2 separate regions of the Homo sapiens genome follow, and region 1 is linked to region 2. Evidence: promoter capture Hi-C in 16 types of primary human blood cells and fetal thymus (Javierre and others, 2016). All regions are on one chromosome and are shown on one strand. The core of a region is centred on a gene start or on the middle of the fragment in contact, and the rest is flanking DNA. Distances in the headings are between cores, read along the strand shown. Region 1 has its middle 16 kb from the start of NGDN. Region 2 holds the start of MYH6 (myosin heavy chain 6).

The links. Contacts are between HindIII fragments. The CHiCAGO score rates a contact against its expected background, and 5 or more counts as called.
Region 1: a contact is called between a fragment that was not itself captured here and the fragment with the promoter of MYH6 in region 2, in 1 of 17 cell types (megakaryocytes). The highest score is 9.1, in megakaryocytes.

What each region holds. Positions count from the first base shown.
Region 1 is chr14:23,450,763-23,457,369 of GRCh38, forward strand. No RefSeq gene overlaps it. Among named protein-coding and RNA genes, the nearest start is that of NGDN, 16 kb to the right of the region's middle. The HindIII fragment of the contact is 2,522 bases long and covers 1,435-3,956 here.
Region 2 is chr14:23,405,160-23,412,040 of GRCh38, forward strand. It overlaps MYH6 (myosin heavy chain 6), which reads right to left and starts at 3,114. Exons shown (of 39, transcript NM_002471.4): 1 at 3,094-3,114; 2 at 2,417-2,449; 3 at 1,864-2,077; 4 at 468-611; 5 at 64-220. The coding sequence starts at 2,064. RefSeq lists enhancers at 1-4,284, 1,967-2,467. The HindIII fragment of the contact is 15,953 bases long and covers 1-4,027 here.

The DNA.
Region 1 (6,607 bases), core at 1,446-3,945, 45 kb after region 2:
AAAAATATTAACATTTACTTGTTTGATATTTAGATTGTTTATAGTTTTAAATAACATTGTTATTGAGATATAATTCATGTGCCATAACATTTACCATTTTACAATATACGATTCAGTAGTTTTTAGTATATTCAGAGTTGTGCAAGCATCACCACTATCAAATTTTAGAACATTTTCATCACCCCCAAAAGAAATACCATACCTATTAGCAGTTACTCCTCTTTCCCACTGACTCCCTGTTTGTAGTTTTTTTGAACTTATAAATAAAGTATCTCTAAACATAAGTACACATGGCTTCTTTTTATTTTGAATGATTTCAATAGAACAAATTCTAGGAGACGAATTCCTTAGTCAAAAATTATGAATATGTTTACATATAGCCACTCTTTGAAAGCATTAATTTACAATCATTGTGGCTTTTTTTCCTGCTGTTGCTTTTCATTGTTAGCATATTGCTTATTCTTACACCGCTTCAGTTTCCTTAAGTTGATGGCACCAGAATATGAGGTCCTTGGGGTTGAGAACTGTAATATTTTCATCTTTGTGTCCCCTAGGGCTACACTACTGAGTGTGGTAGTCACTAGCCAAACATGGCTGTTGGGTACTTGAAATGTGTCTAGTGCAACTGAGACACTGAATTTTTCATTTAGTTAAAATTTAAAATGAAGGGAGATCAATTTATTTTCAACAAAGATTCCAAAACAATTCTTTGAGGAAATGGTGCTGGATACACACATGCAAAAAGATACATTTAGACCACACCCCACACTATACACAAAAATAACTTAAAACAGTTCAGAGACTTACATGTAAGATCTAAAACTTACAATTTTTGGAAGAAAACGTAGGAAAAGTCTTTGGTTAGGAAACAAGTTCTTACATACAATACCAAAAGCATAATCCACAAAAGACAAAATTGTAAGTTGGACTTCATCAAAGTTGAAAGATTTTGTGCTTCAAAAGATGTCATTAAGAAGATTAAAATTTTAAAAAGAAAATTAAAATCTAAGCCACAGACTGGAAGAAAATACTTGCAAATCATATTTCTAATAAAGGACTTGTGTTAAGAATAGATAAAGAACAAGTACAACTCAATAATAATACAAGAAAATTTTAAAATAGTCAAAAGATTTATAGACTTAAAGTCAGCTAATTAGCAAGGTTAAAGAAAGAAAAGATTTATAGATATTTCAACAAAGATATGCAAATGTATAACAAGCACACAAAATATGCTCAACATCATCAATCATTATAGAAATTCTAATTAAAACCTCAATGAGATAGCACTTCATACCCATGAGTGTGACTATAATAAAAAAGAAAGGCAATAATAAATTGTGGCTAGGATGTGGAGAAACCAAAACTCTCCAACATTGCTGGTGAGAACGTAAAATGCAACAGCTACTTTGGAAAACAGTTTGAACTTTTCTTAAAAGCTTAACTGACATACATGTACCAAATAACTCAGCCATCCACTTTTGGGTATTTACTCAATAGAAAAGAAAGTATATATCCACACAAAGACTTATATAAACAAGTTCAAACAAGCGTTTGTTCATAAACGCTTGGATATTATTCATAATATCCAAAAAGTGGAAATAATCCCAATGTTTATCATTAGGTGAACAGATAAACAAAATGTGGTACATCCATACAATGGAATATTATTCAGCAATAAAAAGGAATGAGTACTGATACATGTTATTAATGTAACATGGATTAACCTCAAAAACATGCTAAATGAAAGAATCCAGATGAAAAGGCCACATATTTTATGATTCCATTTCTATGAAATGTCCAGAAAAGGAAAATCTATGAAGACAGAAGGCAGTGGCTGCCTGAAGCTGGTGGTGGAAATGGCAATGGACTGCAAATGGGTGTAAGGGATCCCTTTGGAGCATTGGGAATGCTCTAAATTGGATTGTGGTGATGCTTGCACAAATGTAAATTTTCCTTAAAAATAATTGAATTGTATAAAAGGGGTGAATTTTATGCTATGTAAATTATACCGCAATAAAGCTCTTAAAAAACTAAAGCAGTGTAAAATACTTTCGGTAAAACACAGCTTTGTTGTTTTGGTAGGATTGTTTTACTTCAACGATCAACATAAGATATTGTCGTATTATAGTAACATATCAAGAATATGTGTTGTTTCTAGTGTATACACAAACATCACCAAACTAGTTGTTGTCAATAGATTGATTTGCTCCAGTGCGTTTTTCTCACACTAATTTAACATTATAATGTGTTTATTTGAATATTTGATATAGACAGCATGGTTATAGTGATACCTATATAGAGTCATAATTGGTAATTAAATTGAAATACTTATTATTTTAATTTAATAAATATAACATTTTTATAGTTGAAAAATAAGTATGTACAAAATGTTTTAGTTTAAAACGAAGGCATGTTACTAACATAGAATCTAGTGGGAACACTTCTGATTGTGAACACTCCAACATGTAAAGAGATTATAAGTCGGTCACTCTCATTCTCAAAGCAAGAAGAAAGCTGAACTGAAAACCTACAACTTTTCTTAGTTCTATCAGAGAATTTTGGCTACAGGACAAACTATCACCCTGAAAACTGGAGAGACGGGTGAATACGGAGAATACAAGCCAGCTTACCTGAAGCAGGAGGTGCTGGAACCAGTAACTGACAGGAACACCTAAATGGTAACTTCGATGAATTGCCAGAGGCTGAGCGTGAATTAGCTTGAGAGTTAAAAACTCCTGGGACCCCAGTCTAAGGGGAGAACCCACACTTTCATGAGTTTTACCTCCCACCAGGTTCTCATGATGAAGAATGGAGAGAAATATCCTTATGTTTGGCAGGGCGAGGGTAAAGTGACCATTTAGAAATAAAACCAGAGCTTTCTCCACAACTAAGGCCTATCCAGCAGGGGGAAAGCCTTTGCCGATGTCTTCTTTTACTTGGGGAAAGGGAAATTATCTAGCTCCATCACATTCTGGACTTCCTGTCTCACATATGAGGTAAAAAACAAAACAAAACAAAAAAATACCCTAAGAAACAATTCATTCTGGACTTCTTATCTCACATATGAGGTACAAAACAAAACAAAACAAAAAAATACCCTAAGAAGCAATTATGAAGGTTACAGTCTAGAGTCACAGGTCCACTAAAATACTGAGCTCCAATCATGGGACTATAGAATGCTCTCCTACCCAGTATCTTGCTACCACATCAACAGGACTCCTGAATAGTAAAAGTGGATTATAGCTGACAGGGCTGCAAGGCTTAGATTCTATTTACGAAGGAGTTTCTAAGGAAACTCAAAGACAACAGAGGAGGCAAACACAAGGACTTTAGAAGAAATTAAAATCTTTGACACCTACTGCTGCAGCAAACTAAACACAGTCTAACTCCTGGTCAGATAAAAATAAAAATAAAACTTCACACACAGTCTACCTCAATTCCTATTACCATGTCTGCTTTCAGCAAAAAATTACAAGGCGTGCTAAAAGACAAGAAAAAATACAATCCAAAGAGACATAGCCAGCATCAGAACTAGACTCAGATGTGGCAGAGATTTTGGTATTATCTGTTTTAAAATGTACTGAAGATTTTGTTTCAATCAAGTATGGTAAAATGACAAACATGGAGACAACTGCCTTGAAAGAAGAGCTTATTACAGTTCTTAAGGGGAGGGGACAACTCATGCCACACAGGGCCAGATGGAGAAGCATCCGGTTCAGTCAGGAGGTAGACAGAGAGAGAAAAGCATGGACACAAGCCTTTATTGTGTTTCCCACAGGAAAGGAAGGCAGGGCAAGGTAAATAGCTTAGCTTTGACAAGTCTGGACAATTTCAGCAGGCTCTGTGTTACAGCAGTGATCTCTAGTTGTCTGGTCTCTGGCCCTGGGATTAATTAGGGCAGGGGAAGTACTGGCTTGGTGTGCAAGAGTTAGATAAAGGAGGTGGTTAGGGATACAAGCTTTGGATTGGTTGGTTTGCTGGATGCTCATGGGCAAGTTGTTTACTGCCTCTAGAAATTAGTTAGCTCTGGAAGAGGCAGTCTTTCCAGGATTAGCAGGCCCCTAAGATGTCAAAACCTCATAAAATACAGAAAATTAAAAAACATGATTAATACATTATTGGAGTGGAAATTTAAATTAACTATGATTAATATGCTAAGGACTCTAATGGAAAAAAAGTGGATAATATTCAAGAACAGATGGGTAATGTAAAGCAGAGAGATGAGAACTTTAGGAAAGAATCAAAAGGAAACGTTAGAGTCAAAAACACTGACCAAAAAGAAGAATGCCTTGATGGATTAGTAGACTGGACATGGCTGAGGAAATATTCAATGAGCTTGAAGATATGTCAATGGAAACTTCCCAAACTGAAATGCAAAAAGAAAAGTAACTATATTCAAGAACTGTGGGACAATTACAAAATATGTAATTATGTGTAATGGAAATACCAGAAGGAGAAGGAAATGGGCAGAATAAATATTTGAAGTAATAATGGCAGGCTGGGTGCAGTGGCTCACTCCTGTAATCCCAGCACTTTGGGAGTCCGAGGCGAGCGGATCACAAGGTCAGGAGTTCAAGACCAGCCTGACCAACATGGTGAAACCTTCTCTCTACTAAAAATACAAAAATTAGCCAGGTGTGGTGGTGGGTGCTTATAGTCCCAGCTACTTGGGAGGCTGAGGCAGGAGAATCACTTGAACCCAGGAGGCAGAGGTTGCAGTGAGCGAGATCACGCCACTGCACTCCAGTCTGGTGACAGAGCGAGACTTCATCTAAAAAAAAAAAAAAAGCTGAGAATTTTTTTAAATTAATGACAGAAACCAAACCATAAATGCAGGAAGATTAGACAAAAATATCAAAGCAGGATAAATACCAAAAAAAACCCTATACCTGGGCATATCATATTCAAATTGCAAAAACCAAAGACAAAGAGAAAATCTTAAAGAAGAGAAAAAAATTACCTATAGAGGAATGGATAAGAATGAAAATGTAATTTCTTGTCAGAAATCTGCATGCAAAAAGAGAGTAAAGTGAAATATTTAAAGTGTTGAAAAAAAAATCCACCCAAACTAAAATTTTGAATACAATGAAATTATCTCTCAAAAGTGAAGAGAAAATAAAGACTTCCTCAGGGGACCCTTTCTATTTTGGAGAATGGAGGCTACTCCAGTTAAAAAAAAAAAAAAAAAGTTCTCAAACAAACAAAAGTGAGGGAATCTGTCACCAGCAGACCTGCCTCTCAAGAAATGCTAAAAGACGATTACATAAATCAGAAACTTGCATCTACATAAAGAAAGAAGAACATCAGAGAAGGCAAAAGATGAAGATAAAATAAATCTTTTTCTTAATCCTATCAGATCTAATAGATAACTGTTTGTTCAAAGTAATAATAGCAGCAATGGATTGGGTGATTAGAGCACATGAACAAGTGGTTCGATGAATTATAGCAATGTTAGTAGAGAAGGGAGGGAGGAATTAGGAATACTCTGTTATATTATAAGGTACCTGCATTAACCGTGAGACAGAATATTATTTGAAAGTGGATTTCGATTAGTTGTAAATGTATATTGCAAATCCTAAGGCAACCACTAAAAAATTTTTGTAAGAAGTGTAACTGGGGCTGTGCATGGTGGCTCACGCCTGTAATCCCAGCACTTGGGAGGCCAAGGTGGGTGGATCACCAGAGGTCAGGAGTTCGAGACCAGCCTGGGCAATGTGGGAAAACCCCGTCTCTACTAAAAATACAAAAATTAGCTGGGCATAGTGGCGCACGCCAGTAATCCCAGCTTCTTGGGAGGCTGAGGCAGGAGAATCGCTTGAACCTGGGAGGCAGATGTTGCAGTGAGTTGAGATCGTGCCATTGCACTTCAGCCTGGGAGACAAGAGTGAAACTCCATCTCAACAAACAAACCCAGAAGTGTACGTGATATAGTGATATGATAAGAAATATATATTTGGTCTTTATCCCTGGTTTCTGATACAGAGCTCCTAGTGTAATACAATAAATTAATATTTTATGTTTGTCCCCAGTTCCTCACACAGAGTAGCTCGAATCCTTGGAATATCCAGGGTGATAGAGGTGGTAGTTATTGTTATTTATAGTAAGCCCCTTACAACCATACCTGGTCTTATGTTAATGAAGTGACCCTTGGAGGATGGGGCTGACTGGCAGAGGGACAAACTATGTGATTAGAGGGCTATGGTTTGAATGTATGTGTCCCTGCAAAATTCATGTGTTGGACTATAGCTCCCACAAGATGACATTATTAAGAGTTGGGGACCTTGGGAGTGACCAGGCCATGAGAGCTCCTCCTTGTGGATGAGATTAGTACCCTTATAAAACAGCCTGAGGGAGAACATTCATCCCTTTCGCCCTTCTGCTCTTTTGCCAAGTGAGGACACAACATATGTCCCCTCCAGAGGATGGAGCCACAGCCACAAAGCACCTTCTTGGAAGCAGAAAGCAAGCCCTTGCCAAACACCAAGTCAGCCAGTGCCTTCATCCTGGACTTCCTAGCTACCAAAACAGTGAGAAATAAATTTCTTTTTTCTTTTATTTTTTTGGGACGGAATTTCGCTCTTGTTGCCCAGGCTGGAGTGCAATGGTG
Region 2 (6,881 bases), core at 1,864-4,363:
AGGGCTGAGGATCTGGGTGGGTGTCTGGGAGGAGGAGCAGAGACCAGGGGCCACCAGGCTCACCTGTCAGCATGTACTGATAGGCGTTGTCGGAGATGGAGAAGATGTGGGGCGGGGCCTCACTCCTCTTCTTGCCCCGGTAGGCGGCCACCACCTCGGCATTGTACACCGGCAGCCACTTGTAGGGGTTGACAGTGACACAGAAGAGGCCCGAGTAGGTCTGGAGCAGGAGACAAGGCTGGGCATGAGGTTGGTGGGGAGAGCCTGGGACAGGCAGTGGTGGCAGCCAGGCATGTCCCTGTTCACTCCAGCTGGCTCTACTCCTCCTGCAGCTGACTAGGGGTGGAGGGGGGAAGGGGACTTGGGTCCCTTGGGAGTCTCTCCCCCTCTTCTTGGGAGAGCCCCCCTGGCTTATTTAGGCCTCCACGCAGCACAGGAAGCCTCTGCAGTGTGCAGGAGCCACTCACATATATCATCCAGGCCGCGTAGCGCTCCTTGAGGTTGAAAAGCACCGCGGGCTCGTGCAGGAAGGTCAGCATGGCCATGTCCTCAATCTTGTCGAACTTGGGTGGGTTCTGCTGCAACACCTGGTCCTCCTTCACAGTCACCGTCTGGAGGGGGCGCATAAGCAGGAGGATGAGTGACCACAATCCCTCCGGGACCCTTGCCAGCACTGCCCACTGACCTCCTCCCAGGACACAGGGACTTGGCCTTGCTCCCCTTGCTCTGACCAGTGCCCCGGCCCCTACCCCGATGTCCCCTGGGACACTTTCCCCAGGTAATTTCCCTTCCCATTGTATCTCCCATCCTAGAGACTGTCCTAGGGTACCTTTCTCTTGCCAGATCCCCAGACCATCCTGGGGACACCCTGTGCCCATGACCATCACTCTTCAGTCCCTATGTTCCAAGGGTCTTGGGGCAGACCTGGAGATTGGCAGCTCTCAGATCTGTGCACACCTTATGCTGACCCCGAGGCTGTCTCCCGCGGGCAGCGCTTTAGGGTATCTGTTGCTCAGGGCAAACCTTCACCCCTGCTGGAAAAGTAGTTCACCCATCTACTCCACACTCCCCATCCATCACTGTTGGTGTGGTTTGATTGGCAGCAGTCAGTTTGCCATGCCCTGATGTCATTAGATCCTGCCAGTAGGTATTCCAGTGTTTTTTATAGTGGAGAAATCCGTGGCTCTAAATGACTAAATGATTTGCCTGCACAGTGACTAGCGGGTGGCAGAGCTGGGATCAGAGTCAAAAGCCCCAGGGGATTGTGGCCTGTTATTCTACACTTCAATGGGTTGTAACATTCAGTCAACGAGTTCATGAGGCACACAGCCCTGAGCCGCAGCTGGTAACCAGGGGTGATTCTCTTGGCTGGTGTGAGCAAACCAGGGACCAGAGCTTCTGAGTGCCAGTCAAGGAGAGTGCTCAGCTCAAAAGTTTCTGATCTTTGTGTTCATCTGGGTCTAAGAATTACTCTTGATTTGGGTGAACGGAATTTGAGAAAGTGGACTCATGGAGGAAACTGAGGCACAGGGAAGAGGGATACAAGTGCAAGAAGGGGGCATCATTTAATGCTGTGTCTGTGCCCTCTTTATCTACAAGACCCCTCTTAGGCGAACACTGAGGTTCTTCTTCCTCAGCATCCTCTCTGGCAGGGGGAACATGGCCCTGGGTGGCACCTGTTGCACCAGCTCAGGTCAATTTGAGAGGGATCAGATTCTGGGCTCCTCAAAGGAGCATGTCCTGGCATCCCCACTGGCCTTGGCTTTTCTCCAGCCCTCTCAGCTCCCCCTGCAAGTGGCTCCACCTCTGCATCTTCTTTCCCAGACCTCCTTCCCTTCTGCCCCGGCGCCATGCCCTACTCACCTTCCCATTCTCGGTTTCAGCAATGACCTTGCCTCCCTCCCGGGACAAAATCTTGGCTTTGACAAACTCTTCCTTGTCATCGGGCACGAAGCACTCAGTGCGAATGTCAAAGGGCCGGGTCTGGGCCTCTAGACGCTCCTTCTCTGACTTGCGGAGGTACTGGGCCGCTGCCCCAAAGTCAGCCATCTGGGCATCGGTCATCTTGGTGCTTCCCCTGGGTCAGAGACAGGAGGGCTATGTTACTCCTGAGGGAGCCCAGGCTCCAGCGAGTGGCTTTGTCCTCTGCAGCCCCCCTCCCTACCCCCGCTCCTCTCCTCCACCCTGGGAGAGGCACCTGCTGTTGCACCCTCCCCTACTCAGGGCTCTGCTTCTCCTGCCCTCTGAGGTGATGCTGAAGGACAATCTCTGTAAGGGGTTTCCCTGGGGTGGCATTGGCTGGAGTATGCTAAGGGTTGGCGCTGAGTGCTTGGGACAGCAGACCCCTGGTCCAGCAATCCGGCTCCCAGGAGAAGCATGCCCCAGTCTCTGCAGAGAAAATGGGGGCAGTTCTCACCTGGTTATCCCTTCACGGAGAATCCTGAAGAATCTGGACCGTGGGTGGAGCAAGGAACAACAGAGGTAGAGCCGGGCAGAGAGAAGAACAGATGAGGAGAGTGAAGAACAACAGAGGCAGGCCACCCGGGGATGGAGGCAGCCCCAGAGCGCAGACAGGCAGGACAGACCAGGGAGTCAGAAAGGGAAAGACGCAGAGGCAGAAAAGAAAGGGCACCGAGTCAATATGAGTGCGAGGGACGGGGTGTGGAAACAGGGTTAGAAGCAGAGAGGCAGGGAGGTGAGAACACGTGCCAAGAAGGAAGGACAAGGGAGAGAGACAAAGAAGCATGATTGTGACAAGTGTCGATGAAGACCAAGAGGCAAGATAAAACCAGGATCAAGGGAAGGAAGCCATCCAAAGGAGGAAGGAAGATGGAAAGATGGAGACAACATGTAGGAGACTCAGAATGATGCAGAGAAAGAAATGGAGAGTCAGAGAAGGAGAAAAGAGGTTTCTGGGTTTCCTGTGGAACCTCCTTGTGTCAGGGGGAACTTCCCTGGGCCTGGAGATAGGCAGTTTTAATAGAGCCCTTAGGCCTCCAACTGACCTGCACCCCACTCCTGGTGAAGGAGGTCCCTCACGGTGGGGGCTCTGTGGACGGGCTGCAGGGCATCCCACCCCAAACCTCCTCTTACCTGGGCCGCAGGAGTCTCTCTATCTGTCCTCAAAGCTCCAGTTCCTTTATATCCCGTTTCCCCCACCCTCTGTCTAAATTTGGAGTCCTTCCGGAGGGACCCTCCCTCCCACCTCTCTCCCCTCCTGGCTCCTCCTCCTTTGATCCTTTGGCTCTGGAGGTGACAGGAGGACAGCAGGGCCCCCTGATTTGCCCAAGAAAGGTCTGCTGCCCCAGCCTCTCTGGCTCCACGGCCTTTTTTTAGTCCTTGGGCACATTCCTCCCCTTCAAAGGGCTGATGAGCAGATAGTGGGAAGACAGGACCTTCTCACACCGCCTCTCCCACCCTGCCATGGCCCTTACCTCAGTTATTTTTAACCCGAAGGGTGAACTGAAAACATGGGTGAGGGTCACCTTCTCCTGCAGGCCAAATGCCTGTCCTCCGCCTCCCAACCATGGGCTTTCCTCCCCTGTTCCCCAGCCTCTCCTTCCCATTCTGACCTCCCTCACACAGTCCCAGGCTGGGAGCATCTTCCTGCTGTTAGTACTGGAGCCCCCAGTGCTAGGGACTAAAAGCTGCAGTATGGTGCCCAGGGAAGGGATCTGTTGTCCATCTCCATGGCTCAGTTTTCTTTTGTCAGGAAATTCTGTCCTGGCCTCAGTCTGCATAAGTGCCATGCCTGGTCTCCTTCTGTTCCCCAAGTCTTCAGACAAGTGTTCTCCCAAGGTCTTGAGGCCACCCTGGTTTGGGGACACGTCTGGAGTCCCCACCCCTTCCCTAATGCTCCTGATAGAGTGGCCAACATCCAACCTGCTCACGCAATGGCAGTGATTCTCCCTGCCGCCTCAGGCAGATTTTCACACAGAACCCCAGTTCAGCACTCTCACATACAGACTTGACCGTGTCTGTGCCCATCTTCAGCCACACATGCAGATTTTTCACACTTACCCACTCAAGCTTGCAGATTTCTTTTCTACTTTCTTTTGTGTACATGGATGCACACATTTGCACATCCGCATTTGCACACATAGGCTTTTGCCCTCCCCTGCTACCCTCTGCTCCTGGGGTGGGGTGGGCAGAAGAAGATGGTGCTAATCCTAGGGCCTGAGAGAGGAGGGGGGTGGGTGAGGGGCTGTCCCCTTCTGCCTCACCGGGCTGCCAGAGGGTGCAGGTGCCTGGCAGGCCTGGGGATTTACACCATCTGGTCCCCAGGCACTGCATTCCATCGGGGTGGGGCTCTGCCACCTGCCCCCTCCCCAGGCAGAATTTTGTTGCCCCTTTCCAAGCCCTCCAGGGCTTATACTCACATTCCCTTCTTTGTGGGTGTCCTCAAGCACCCTAGGCCCTCAAGGCCCCGCTCCCCATCCTCCAATGCTGCCATCTCTCAGAGGCTGTAGGTGTCAGGTCTTCAGCAGGCTGTTCCTGTTATGACTAAGTGGACATTGTGTTCAGGAAACAAAGCCAGACTCCCCTGCTCTGGCCTTCCCCCCACCCTCACACCCAGGAACACCCTCCCAGCCCCCCTCCCACCAGTTTACTGTCACCTCTCAATATAGCTCCAGGGTGTGGAGGTGGGTAGGACGACAGGGGTCAGCTTCTCTGGGTAGGAGCACTTTCCATTAAGATGTGGCCTCTCCCCTAGCTCCCTAGGACGCTGCCACCCCATTCCTGGGCTCAGGAACACACCTCTCTTTCCAGAGCATTTGGACCTTTTCTCAATGTCCTTGGAGGGACCTTAGTTGACCCCACATCCCCATCTTCTGCAGGTGCTTATGCCAAATCATTACCCCCAGGGGATGCAGGCCACCTGTCCCCAGCTCTAGGTTACTCGAGGCCCCAGAATTCGAGCCGGGGGGTTAGCCCATGGCCAGTGCGTCACTGCTTGGTTCCCATAGCTCTGGGGACATGATAAGGAGCTGAGAACGCCAGGTCAGTCTGGGTCGGGGTCAGGTGACAAAGACCAGGCTTTGTCCTCAGGGAACCCTGTGCTCTGAGCAGGCCTCACTTGGTATAGGTGGTGGTGGCAGGGCAGCGGGGAGTGGAGGTGGTGGGGGGTAGTCCCCCGCTCCTGTGGAAGGAGGAGGAAGGAAGGTGTTCACTCAGCCCCAGGCCCTGCCCGTCTGCTCCGCTGTACCGTCCTCTCCCTTCCCCAGGCTCCTTCTCTCCCTGCTCTCACATATTGCTCTCCGTCCTCCCTAAGCTGCCTTGCACACAGCTCCTCATTCTGCTGGGAGTCCTGGAATATAAGGACAGGGATGGAGGCTTCGGCCACAGGTGAGGGTGCCAAGGAGGCAAGGCTGGCCTCCCTGGCACAGGTTGCCTGTCTTCTGCCTGGCTCCCCGTTGCATCTGTCTCTGTCTCACCTTCATTCCCTCTGCCTGCTTCTCCATCTCAGAGTGGGGCCTGCCTCCGATTCTCCCTGGCCCGTGTCTCCACCCGGCTCAGGGTCTAACATGAGGCTCTGCCCTCTCCGAGCTGGCCTCTTCTCTCGCCCTGGGCCTCCACATCTTGCTCCAGGCTCTTCCTCCTCTCCAATCTCCTTGCGCCTTCCTGACTCTCCTTGCATTTGCAAGTGACCCAGGATTCTTTCCTTCACTCGGGATCACCACCCGCAGCTCTTCAAGCTTCTCCCTCCAAGGCTCCCTCTCTTTTCCTCTCTCCCCATCCCCCTCAGCACCCCTCCTTCTCCCTGGCTTGGCTCTCAGACCTCTCTCAACCCTGCTGTCTGCATCCAGCCCCCGACCATTCTCATAGGATCTGTATCTCTTGCGGTCTCTCTTGCTCTGGTTGCTTAGGTGCCCTGGGTCTCTCTGCATAGCTCCCTTTTCAAGGGTTCTCTCCTTTGTTTCTAGTTATCTCTTCATTGCTGTCCAAGTCTGTTCCTAGCCAGAGGAATGGCCCTAGGGATCTCGGCCCAAGCCGAGGTTGTGCCACTGCACTCCAGCCTGGGCAGCAGAGTGAGACTCCGTCACAAAAACAAAAACAAAAACAAAAAGGCTGAAAGAATCCTAGAAATCACAGAGAACTGAATTACCTTGGCCTCTGGGGCTGTGTGGTTCAATTGAGCTGGATAAATGAAAAGGAAGCATCCCTGGTTTGAGGGAGCTCTGTCTGGGTTGGCCTAGGGAAGGAGAATGGAGGTGGCTATGAGGAGAAAGGTGGCGGCGCCTGCGGATCTTTCTGGGGCCTCCTCATTTCCTGCATCTTTTTTCCTTGTCTCTGTTTCCTCTGGTTACCTTGTCCTGTGGTTGCTCAATCTCTTTGTCCACTGCCACCCCCTCAGGTCTTTCCTTGTCCCCTCCCTACCCCCTTTTTCTCCTCTGCTGTCACCTGCTATTGTCCAGTACTGGTTTCTCCTTCTCCGGCTTAGGGCCCTTGGCTCTGGCTGCCGCAGTCCTCAGAGCTCCGAGCTCAGAGCTGGGTACAGAGCAGGAGTGGGCTCCGAGTGGGTATGTTGGTGGGTTGGGGGAGATCCAGTCCAGGGCTGAACCACTGCTTCCCAGGTTCCCAGTGGGGCCGACAGCCCCAGTGCCTTTCAAGCCCCTGACCTCTGTGGCCCACAGTCCCAGGCCTGCCTAAGCAACCCAGCTGTGGCAGGAACTCCAAAGGGGCTGAACTTGTTTAGTTGGAGGAGACTTACTCTTTCCTCCACCTCCTGGCCCTCTCGGGAGCCATCCCTTCCCTCCCTCTCCCCAGAGTCCTGTTCACACATAACCTTCCCCAGCCCCTCATCTGTCTGCCTCCCCTCAAGATGGCTTGCCATAAATGGGCCAGGAGAACCCCATCTTCCCACAAGCCCAGAGGACAAA